Regions from separate parts of the Homo sapiens genome. Here all the other regions are linked to region 3. The links are contacts of gene promoters, found by promoter capture Hi-C in blood cells and fetal thymus (Javierre and others, 2016). All regions are on one chromosome and are shown on one strand. Each heading gives the region's core, a stretch centred on a gene start or on the middle of the fragment in contact. The rest is flanking DNA. Distances are from core to core; before and after follow the strand shown.

The links. The method cuts DNA at HindIII sites, captures the fragments that hold promoters and counts their contacts. A CHiCAGO score of 5 or more calls a contact.
Region 1: a fragment that was not itself captured here is called in contact with the fragment with the promoter of VWA2 in region 3 in 1 of 17 cell types (fetal thymus); the score reaches 6.2 in fetal thymus.
Region 2: a contact is called between a fragment that was not itself captured here and the fragment with the promoter of VWA2 in region 3, in 1 of 17 cell types (megakaryocytes). The highest score is 5.4, in megakaryocytes.
Region 4: a contact is called between a fragment that was not itself captured here and the fragment with the promoter of VWA2 in region 3, in 5 of 17 cell types (total B cells, non-activated CD4 T cells, total CD8 T cells and 2 more). The highest score is 6.5, in total B cells.

Annotation. Positions count from the first base shown.
Region 1 is chr10:113,712,065-113,714,764 of GRCh38, reverse strand. All of the region lies in intron 2 of CASP7 (caspase 7), which reads right to left. Among named protein-coding and RNA genes, the nearest start is that of CASP7, 34 kb to the right of the region's middle. The HindIII fragment of the contact is 675 bases long and covers 930-1,604 here.
Region 2 is chr10:113,687,807-113,690,506 of GRCh38, reverse strand. The region is part of intron 1 of CASP7 (caspase 7); the gene reads right to left. Among named protein-coding and RNA genes, the nearest start is that of CASP7, 9.2 kb to the right of the region's middle. The HindIII fragment of the contact is 4,707 bases long and covers 1-2,700 here.
Region 3 is chr10:114,237,897-114,240,596 of GRCh38, reverse strand. VWA2 (von Willebrand factor A domain containing 2) reads right to left here and starts at 1,343. Exons shown (of 14, transcript NM_001272046.2): 1 at 1,028-1,343. RefSeq lists an enhancer at 724-1,432. The HindIII fragment of the contact is 4,541 bases long and covers 1-2,700 here.
Region 4 is chr10:114,792,298-114,794,997 of GRCh38, reverse strand. It overlaps a transcript of ABLIM1 not described here. Among named protein-coding and RNA genes, the nearest start is that of FHIP2A, 28 kb to the left of the region's middle. The HindIII fragment of the contact is 2,304 bases long and covers 291-2,594 here.

The DNA.
Region 1 (2,700 bases), core at 18-2,517, 530 kb after region 3:
TCCAGTGGTTTTCCCATATGCTGGGAAGGAACTCCAGGGTCCTGACCACAGCCCACAGGGCCTACATGAGTTACTACCCCTATTATATCCACTTTTTCCTTCCCACTCCTGCCTCAGCCTCAGGAGTAGCTGGGATTACACGTGCACGCCACCATAACCGGGCAATTTTTTTTGTATTTTGTTAGTAGAGATGGGGTTTCATCATGTTGGCTAGGTTGGTCTCGAACTCCTGACCTCAGGTAATCTGCCCACCTCGGCCTCCCGAGGTGCTGGGATTACAGGTGTAAGCCACCACGCCGGCCCCTGCTTTAATTTTTAAATTCATCACCTGACCTCAAATTACAGAGCTATGTTGTCTCCTGCTAGAGTGTAAACTCTATGAGGGCAGGACCTGGACTACTTCACTGCAGTTCCCCCAGCTTCTACAACAGTGCCAGACACATAGCAGGTGCTCAACAGTGTTTTGTGAATGAGTGAAGAGCGTTTCGTGCTGAAGAAACACCACAGTCAGAGGCCCTGGGCCACCTCTGTTTAGGTGATCAGCTAAATGGAGCTGCCGTCCTGCCTGGTGACCAGCAGGACATGTCAGGGGCAGGTGAGGGAGGGGCAGGCACACTGGTACCCGCACTTCCATTTTGCCAATTCTTGTTGCAAGGCTGCTGCAGAGACACTCATTAGGTACAGCCTCATTAGGCTCAAAGCTCACATATAGGAAGAGAACAGATTTCTGAGAGGGAGTTAATTTAGGGCAGCCCGAACGCAGGACAACTCTTGCTTGAGTATTTCTTTCAGGTGGGAGACCTAATACTACCTGGAAACATTTTTGGAGTAATAAGTTTTCTTCCCTCATTTCCCCTGACTCTCCCATTTCCAGTGTTGAACCTTCATAGCACACTTCAATTACAAGAGCTATCTGGCAGACATAAGCTTATTCAATTAGTCACTCGCTCCCATAATAACCAGGTTGGATCATAAAGGGAGGGTTCTTTAATCAAAATCACACAGTACAGTAAACAAGAATGAGGAACCTCTTTATGTTCTGATGTGGGACAATCTCCAATAAGTCGTGTTAAGTGCAGAACAAAACCAAATTGCAGAACAATGGCAGCAGTGTGCTACCTTTTGGAAAAAAAAAAGAAGAAAAGAAAATATGTTTAGATTTGCTCGTATCTGCATAAAGAGACACTTGAAGGATGGTGCAGTAGATAAATCCATGGATTCAGGGGCTGGGCTGTGTGGATTTGACTCCCTATTCTACTGCATAGCTGTGTGACTGTGGGCAAATTACTTAACCTCTCTGTGCTTGTGCTTCCTCATTTGTTAAAAGGACAAAATAACAGCATTTGCTCAGAGCCTGTAAACAAGTTAATCTTCACAAAGCATTTAGAACAGTGTGTGTCCTGTTGTAAGTGGTAAATAAACATCATGATTATTACTGTTATTGATACAGGAGATAGAAATTATTTAGGCAGATAGTAAGGGTATAAGAGTCCTCCACAGAATTTCCCTTTTAACAAAAAGCAGGCCCCAAATAATTTCTTTTTTTTTAACAAAGAGCAGTCTGAAAAATCAAGCTGCAGACATAGATAAGCAAGCTGGAAGCTTGCACGGGTGAACACCGGCAGCTATGCCAGTAGAAAAGGGCTACGTAAGGGCCAGGTATGTTTAACATGGAGGCTCCACTCTTCCCTTTTCTTTGCCACCACATGTACAGTAAGGAAACAGGTAACATGGCGCTGGCCAGGTGGAGAACCAGCTGCATAATAAAAGATGAGTGTGGGGTGGCCAGCTTTTTCATGCCCTACGCAAATGACACACCTAGCCCTAAACAGTTTTTGGTGCCCTATGCAAATGACACACCTGGTTCAACCAATCTTTTGCATCCTATGTAAATCAGCCACTGCCTCCTCAAGCTCATCTATGAAACGCCTTGCATTCCACTGCGGAACCAGCAATCCATTTCTCTTGGACCCCTCTCTCTGCAGTAGAGAGAGCTCTTCTCTTTCTTTTGCTTATTAAACTTCCACTCTGAACCTCAGTATTTGTGTGTCTGTGTCTTAGTTTTCCGTGGCCGTGAGACAATGAATCTTGGGTATTTACTCCCGACACTGACGCCGGTTCATTATTATGTCTATCTTTCAGCGTGGTTATCTGTGTTACAGGGAGCTGGGAGCAGACAGTAGGCAAGAGTGGAAGAACTCTGTGTAACTTTTTATTATATGCAAATAAGTTATTTAAAACACTAAACTAATAATTGCCATTTAACAGTTAAAAGTCTCTTGCTTGCTACAAACGGATTTCAAGATCTGGCTTATTTTGAAGATCACTGGATTCATACTTTTTTGTGCTAATTGAGGGGGCTCCCTAGACACCCCGTTTTTCTATTTTTCACTGTGACTTTATCCCTCTGCCTAGCCTTTTAAACTTCTTACTCCACTGTGTCAGCAATAACAACAATAATAAATACAGTTATAATAAACATCATTTTTTGATCATTTACCACTTTACATATATTATCTCATTTAATCTTCAAGAGTTCTGTGAGGTATTAGTTCCATTTCACAGAGAGGGATGAAATCAGCTTGTCCAAAATTACAAAGCTAGAGAGGAATAGAGCCTGGATTCATTCCAAGGTGTAACCCCAAGTCTCCTATTCCAGAGTTTCTCAACTTTGTTAAAATTCGGAATCCTATGCTTTGC
Region 2 (2,700 bases), core at 101-2,600, 550 kb after region 3:
TGGCAATATGACAAAACAGGGTTCTATAACACCCCCAAAAGATCACATTAGCTTTCCAGCAATGGATCCAAACTAAGATGAAATCTTGGAAATACCAAATAAAGAATCCAAATGGTTGATTATTAAGTTACCCAAGGAGATACAAGAAAAAGGTGAAAACCAATATAAAGAAAGTTTTTTAAAAATTCAGGATATGAATGAAAATTTTTCTAAAGAGATAGATACTTTAGAGGAAAAAAAAACAATCAGAACTTCTAGAAATGAAAGACACATTTAGGGAGTTACAAAACAAGTGGAAAGTTTTAACAACAGACTAGACCAAGTAGAATAAAGAATTTCAGAGCTCGAAGACAAGGCTTTTGAATAAACCCAGTCAGACAAAAATAAAGAAAAAATAACTAAAAGAAATGAACAAAGTCTCTAAGAAATATGAGATTATGTAAAATGGCCAAAGCTAAGAATCACTGGTGTTCCTGAGGGAGAAGAAAAAGTAAAAATTTTGGAAAATTTATTTGAGGGAATAATTGAGGAAGACTTCCCTAGCCTTGCCAGAGATTTAGACATCCAAATACAAGAAGGTCAAAGCCCTTCGGGGAGATTCATGGCAAAATGGACATCTCCAAGGCATACAGTCAACAGGCTATTACTAATGTCAACATGAAGGAAAGAATTCTAAGAGCAGTAAGACAGAAGTATCAGATAACCTGCAAAGGAAAAGCTATCAGACTAACAGTAGACTTCTCAGCAGAAACCTTATAAGCCAGAAAGGATTGGGGCCCTATTTTTAGCCTCCTTAAACAGAATAACTCTCAGCCAAAAACGTTGTATACAGCAAAACTAAGTTTCATAAATGAAGGGGATATAGTCTTTCTCAGACAAGCACATGCTGAAGGAATTTGCCACTACCAGATCAGCCCGACAAGAAATGCTAAAAGGAATTCTAAACGCTGAAATAAAAGGTCAATATGCAACAGAATAGAACCTCTCAAAAACACAAAACTCACAGGGCTTATAAAACAATAACACAATAAAAAAAACAAAGTATCCAGGTAACAATCAACATGATGATTGGGTCACACCTCAATATTAATGTTGAATGTACATGGCCTAATGCTCCACTTAAAAGATACAGATTGGCAGAATGGATTAAAAAAAAAATCACAAACCAAATGTCTGCTGTCTTCAAGAAGCTGAGCTAATTAATACAAAGGATTCTTATAGAATCAAGGTAAAGGGGTGGAAAAAGATACTCCACACAAATAGAAACCGAAAGCAAGCAGAAGTTGCTACTCTTATATCAGATAAAACAAACTTTAAAGAAAAACAGTTTACAAACAAAAAGACAAAGAAAGTATGATAAAAGGATTGACCCAACAGGAAGATATTATAACCCTAAATATATATGCACATAACTCTGAAGCTCCTAGATTCATAAAACAATTACCACTAGACCTAAGACAAGAGATAGACAGCAACATAATGATATTGGAGAACTTCAATACTCCACTGACAGCACTAGACAGATCACTGAGGCAGAAAGTCAACACAGAAACACTGAATTTAAACTACACTCCAGAACAAATGGACCTAACGGATAATTATAGAACATTCTACCCAAGAACTGCAGAATATACATTCTTCTCATCAGCATATGGAACATTCTCTAAGACAGACCATGTGATAGGCCACAAAATAAGTCTCAATTAATTTTTAAAAATGAAAATCATATCAAGTATCTTCTCAGACTACACCAGAATCAAACTAGAAATCGACTCCAAAAGAAACCCTCAAAACTATATAAAAACAAGGAAATTAAACAGTCTGCTCCTGACTGATTTTTGGGTTAACAATGAAATCAAGATAGAAATTTGAAAATTCTTCAAAACGAATGATAACAGTGACACACATTATCAAAACCTCTGGGATACAACAGAAGCAGTGCTAAGAGGAAAGTTTGTGGTGCTAAATATCTACATCAAAAAGTCTGAAAGATGACAAATTGACAACCTAAAGTCACACCTCCTGGAACTAGAGAAGCAAGAACAAACCAAACCCAAAGCTAGCAGAAGAAAATAACAAAGATCAAGGCAGAATAAATGAAATTGAAACAAAAAATGCAAAAGATCAATGAAACAAAAAGTTGCTTCCTTGAAAAGATAAACTCAGGGGACCATTAGCTAGATTTACCAATAAAAGAAGAGAGAACATTCAAATAAGCTAAATCAGAAATGAAGATGGAGGGCCAGGCACAGTGGCTCACACCCGTAATCCCAGCACTTTGGGAGGCTGAGGCGGGTGGATCATAGGTCAAGAGATTGAGACCATCCTGGCCAACATGGTGAAACCCTGTCTCTACTAAAAATACAAAAATTAGCTAGGCATGGTGGCACACGGCTGTAGTCCCAGCTCAGGAGGCTGAGGCAGGAGAATCGCTTGAACCCGGGAGGTGGAGGTTGCAGTGAGCCAAGATCGCGCCACTGCACTCCAGCCTGGGTGACAGAGCGGGACTCTGTCTCAAAAAGAAAGAAAAGAAAGAAAGAAAGGAAGGAAGGAAGGAAGGAAGGAAGGAAGGAAGGAAGGAAGGAAGGAAAGAAGGAAGGAAAGAAAGAAAGAAAGGAAAGAAAGAAAGAAAGAAAGAAAGAAAGAAAGAAAGAAAGAAAAGAAAGAAAGGAAAGAAAGAAAGAAAGAAAGAAAGAAAGA
Region 3 (2,700 bases), core at 94-2,593:
TTGAATTTTTGGGACTGAATTTATAAAACACTTAGAGGTTCTGGGGTTTTACTTAAAGCAGCTTGTAATTTGAAAAATGTACACGTTCTAATTATTCCAATCTCCAAGACATCAAACACATGGCATGAGGTCCCCATTGCTAAGTCCCCTTTCAGCTTCAGCTGGAGCCCTTGATTCCACAATCACAAGCAGCAAGGTGCCCTCCTCCCTTCTCTTCTGTCTGGTGCCCCCAGCAAGTTTTCAAGGTTCAATTCTGAGACTCTCCCATTCACCGTCCCAGCAGGTGGCCAAGGGCCCAAGGCGGGAGGGAAAGGTCGGCTTAGCTAGGGAAAGTTTTGTTAGCCTTATTGGAAGGGAAGGAGACATGCAGGAAGCAGGGCTGAGCCAGGTGGGGGAAGTCACCAGAACGACAAACCCCTGGACTTCCCACTGCCCAAGCGCGAGGACTCTCGGGGCAGCCGGCCCCTCTCAGGTTCTGCTTGCAGACACTTCGCTGGGGGCACTCGTTCTGCCTGGGAAAACTGCCCCAAGTCCCCTTAACACCTGTGTATGTCCTGTAGTGGGGTGTGGGGTGGAAGCGAGCATGTCACCAAAGCCTTTATTCAAAGGGCGAGTCCCTTTCCGCGGCCGCCAGGGAAGGGGGCCCCGCTACTGTGCCAGGAGGGCAGCTTGGGTTTAATACATGCCCTCCTCCACCCCTGTACCCGGAGCCCCTACCCACTTACCTGCTGACCGCACCCCTCCCAAAACCCCGCCAGCTCGCCCGGGACGGACCGCGAGTGGCCACGAGGGAGGCGCGCGCCAGGTGCGCTCTTCCCCCGACGCCGCCGTGCCAGGAAGGCCGCGCTCAGGTGCGCGCAGACAATGCGAACAAAGCCCGCACCCTCGGCGGGGCCGCGCAGCCCGGGTGCTCTGGGTAGGGGTGGCTGGGCAGAGGGGGCCCCAGTACCGGGAGCGTGAATCGGTCATCGGCAGCCGGCACTGGCGGGTACCCGGGCGCCAGAGCCAACTCGGGGCTGGGACTCACCGGAAGGAGAGCGGCGACCAGCGCTCGGTGCCCGGGCGGCTCTACTCACAGACCCGGGCGCGGCTCGGGCCAGGGGGCGCTACGGGATCACAGGAGGGGCGCCCGGGGCGCGGCTGCCACGTGGGACACCTGTTTGTCTCTCCTGGGAGAGGGCGGCACGACCCGACCCGGCTGAGGTCGGAGGAACTACCGCCAGGGAGGTGCATAGAGCCCCTCGCGTTTTTTAAAGCGGCATCGGCCCAGGTCTGCAAATAAAAAAGTACTTCACTTCTACGCGGGTCACCCAGCCTCCGAGCGGTGCAGCCGCGAACACTGTGCCGTCAGCTGACTCCTCCACGGGCTTTATAGCTCCTTGAAAAAATGTTGACTTTGGCATCTTTTCTATTTGTCATGGCAATTGCCTTTTAATTACCTGTCCCTCCTATTGTTGCAGTTGGGTAATAAGCCGACCTTTTGGCCATCATCCTTGCTTAAGATTGGAGGGCGTTTGATTTTTAAAAAATCAAATGCCACAAAGCACAATGCTGAGCATGATGCTTTATATAAAGTAAGCTCTCAATGAACGTTGACTATGACTGCACAATCCATAATTTCCATACTTCATTTAAAAACTGCCAGAGCATGCCTGTTCATTGCAAAAAAAAAAAAAAGAAAAGAAATAACAGTAAAAAAGTTGATAAATCAATCATTTTCCAACACCCAGAGATAATCAGTTAACATTGTGGTGTATGTTCTTCCAATGTCATTCTACCTATGCAAAAATTTATATATTTTTAGTTCATTCCATACAAGCTGTACATTACTCAGGTTTTCCATTTCCTTTTTTTGAATGTCCGTTTTAAGCCACTTCATAATGTCCTAATGTACTTAACCTATCTGCTATTGTTGAATATTAAACTTTCCATTTTAATAATACAATTAGATGTCTTTGTGCTTTTGTCCAATTAATTCCTTAGAATAAACTACGAAAAGGTAAATTTCTAGGATACAGGTTTTATACAACTTAAGACTTTTGATGCCTATTATCTAATTGTCCTCAAGGAAGGTTGACCTGCTTCCTCTTTTCCATGCTCCTTCCCATTATTCTTGTAAATGTCAATCTGATAGGAAAATAATTTGCTTTACACCTTTCCTGTCTGTAGTTCTCAGTTAATTTCCAAACCTCCGACACTGACAGCTTCCAGTGAAAGTGGCCCGTGGTGACTTTAATGTTGCAAACCTCATTGAAGGAGGCTAGGAAAGGACTCATTTTTCCTGTAATTCATTTCTCCCAGTAACATTTACTGAGCACCCAAAAATAAAAACAGGGCCACACCAGAGCAGCAGACATAATGTACCACCACATCATCCCCACAGGGGACAGCAGTTAGTCTTGAGGTCTAACTGCTGGGGAGGGATGGTCTCTGCCTCTAGATCAGCATTGCCCCAGAGAAATACTGACCAAGCCACGTGTGTAATTTTAAATGTTCTAGTGGTCACATTTAATAAAAAGTGAAAAGAAACAGCAAGCTGGATTTCAGTATTAACCTAAACATCCGGAACATTATCTCAACATGTAATCAATAAAGATGTTTTATGCTGTCTTCAAAGTCCTGTTTTTTTGTTTTTTTTTTTTTTTTTTTTGTTTGAGACAGAGTCTCACTCTGTTGCCCAGGCTGGAGTGCAATGGCATG
Region 4 (2,700 bases), core at 193-2,692, 550 kb before region 3:
CAAGTGTGTTCAAGCTTTCAATTTCCTTAAATCTCATAAAAATTCAGATGTATGTCCAATTATTCCTCATTACAGCCAGGAAGTTAATTTGCTGTCATATATTCTCAGCATTAGGGAGATTCTTGAATGTTTTCCTGTATTTTTTCTCACTATACTTGAAAAAAATAGATTTGCCAGCTATTCCCTGGTTTTACTTGTACTCCTGAGAGTCAAAGAAAGACAATTTTCACTTCCTTGACATTTTAGCACTTTCCTGGCTATGATCCAGCTAATTAACTGTGGGTCAAGCTTGCTTTAGATAAAGTACTATTTTATATTAAAAAGGTTAGTGATTAGTATGTAGTTTGAATTTTATTTTACAAAATTTCAGCATTAAAAAACATCAGCATCAAGAAACCCCAAAAAACACAAATATGTATCCTCAATTACTGATGTTACTCATTTTTCTAGTTGTATCTCATTTTTCAGAAACCTCAGATGTTCATAATCAAACTTACATTTGTAAATTCCTTTGATTTTTTAAATGAACCTATAAATGGTTCTTAGTAAAAATTCATTCATTCATTCAGCAAAACTTACTGAGTACTTATTATGTGCCAGGTACATTTTTTGGTTGTTGGGCATATGGGAATAAATAAGACATACGAAGTCTATGTTTTCATGGCACTTGCATTGTAATTGGGGATGAGAATCAATAAACAAAAGAGATATAATATATCAAATGGTGACTAAATGTAGTGAAGAGAAAATGAAGCAGGGTAAGAGGATAGCGAACACGAATAAGTAGAGGGGTCAAGCTATGTATGTATCTGGGACAGAAATATTCCGGAGAGGAAGACTAGTGCAAAGGCAAGTTAACCAAACCTAGTAGGTCCAGACACATCCAGGAGACTTGTGTAGCCACAGCAGAGTCCAAGAGGAGATGGGATCCATGGAGAAGCAGCGGCCAGACTGCATGGTGCCTACAGGAGATGGAAAGGAATTTGGTTTTAGCTTGATCACTTCTGGCTGCTGCGTGAAGAGACTACAGGACTGTAACTGCAGAAGCAGTCCAACTAACTAGAAGATGTGCAAGAGATTTATTAAGAGGAACACCTGTGAGGGGAGATGGAGAGGGTGCCAGAATAGGGTTTGAGAGCTTTCAGACTGCAATGCAGGTCTGACCCTGGTAATAGACAGAGGGAGGGCAAAAGGATGGACGGGAGACTTGGAGACTACAGTACAGCTCTGTGAAAGTTTGGCAAGGCCAGTAGGGAGTCCTTGAGCCCAAACTACCCATCAGAGGAGTCTCCCATCTCCCAGTAATGGGCCTGCTCCTGTGTTCCTGCCACACTCAAGTCATTAGCTGGGAGTAGCCTTTGGGACACCCAGCCTCAGCAAGAACACAGGGATCAAGATTTCAGGTGCAGGAGCTGGGGCCACTGTCAATTATGCTGCACTATCAGCATAAAGTGCAGCATAAAGCTGCACTGCTTTTATAAATACCTGAGGCTGGGTAATTTATAAAGAAAAGAGGTTTAATTGGCTCATGGTTCTGCAGGCTGTACAGGAAGCATGGTGCTGGCATCTGCTTGGTTGTGGGGAGGCCTCAGGAAACTTACAGTCATGGTGGAAGGCAAAGGGGGAGCAGGCACGTCACATGGCCAAGGCAAGAGAGTGAGGGAAGGTGCCACGCACTTTCAGACAACCAGATCTCATGAGGATTCACTCACTATCACAAGGACAGCACCAAGAGGATGGTGCTAAACCATTCATGAGAAATCTGCCCTCCTGATCCAGTTACCTCCCACCAGGCCCCACCTCCAACATTGGGGATTGCATTTCTTTTTTTCTTTTTATTTTTTTTGAGATGGTGTCTCACTCTGTCGCCCAGGCTGGAGGGCAGAGGCGCGATCTCGGCTTACTGCAACCTCTGCCTCCCAGGTTCAAGTGATTCTCATACCTCAGCCTCCTGAGTAGCTGGGATTACAGGCATGTGCCACCATTCCTGGCTAATTTTTGTATTTTCAGTAGAGATGGGATTTCACCATGTTGGCTAGGCTTGTCTCGAACTCCAGACCTCAGGTGATCTTCCCACTTCTGCCTCCCAAAGTGCTGGGATTACAGGCATGAGCCACTGCACCCAGCTGGGGATTACATTTCAACATGAGATTTGGGTGGTGACACAGATCCAAATTATATCAGATCTCCACATAGAGACATTGATAAAGCAGCTGAATATAGAATCTGGGTTCAAGGGAAAGGTCCAAGCTGGAAATATAAATTTGAAAATCATCAACATATGAACAGTATTAACAGTCATGGGATTGGATTGGTTTACCCAAGGAGCCTCATGGATGGAGGGAAGAAGAGGATCAAGACCTGAGAAGGAGAAGAGGAGAATCCCACAGAAAGAAGAAGGAGCAGCCAGCAGGAGGTAGGGGAACCACAAAGCAGTGGTGTCCAGGAAGCCAAAGGAAAAAGTTGTCTGAAAGGATAAATTCTCTGTTCCTTATTCTACTTCTTTATTCTTGATATCTATTAAATGAAAGTTATCTGATGTATCAGTATCTTGCTAAGTGGGCCTACTAAATAATCAAGAAGGAAATAAAGCTTATAAGAATACTGACTTTGTGACCAATTCAAAACCTGTGTCCACCATTCACTCTGTGTCCTTGGGCAAGATTCTTTTTTGTGTGTGACAGGGTCTGGCTCTGTCAC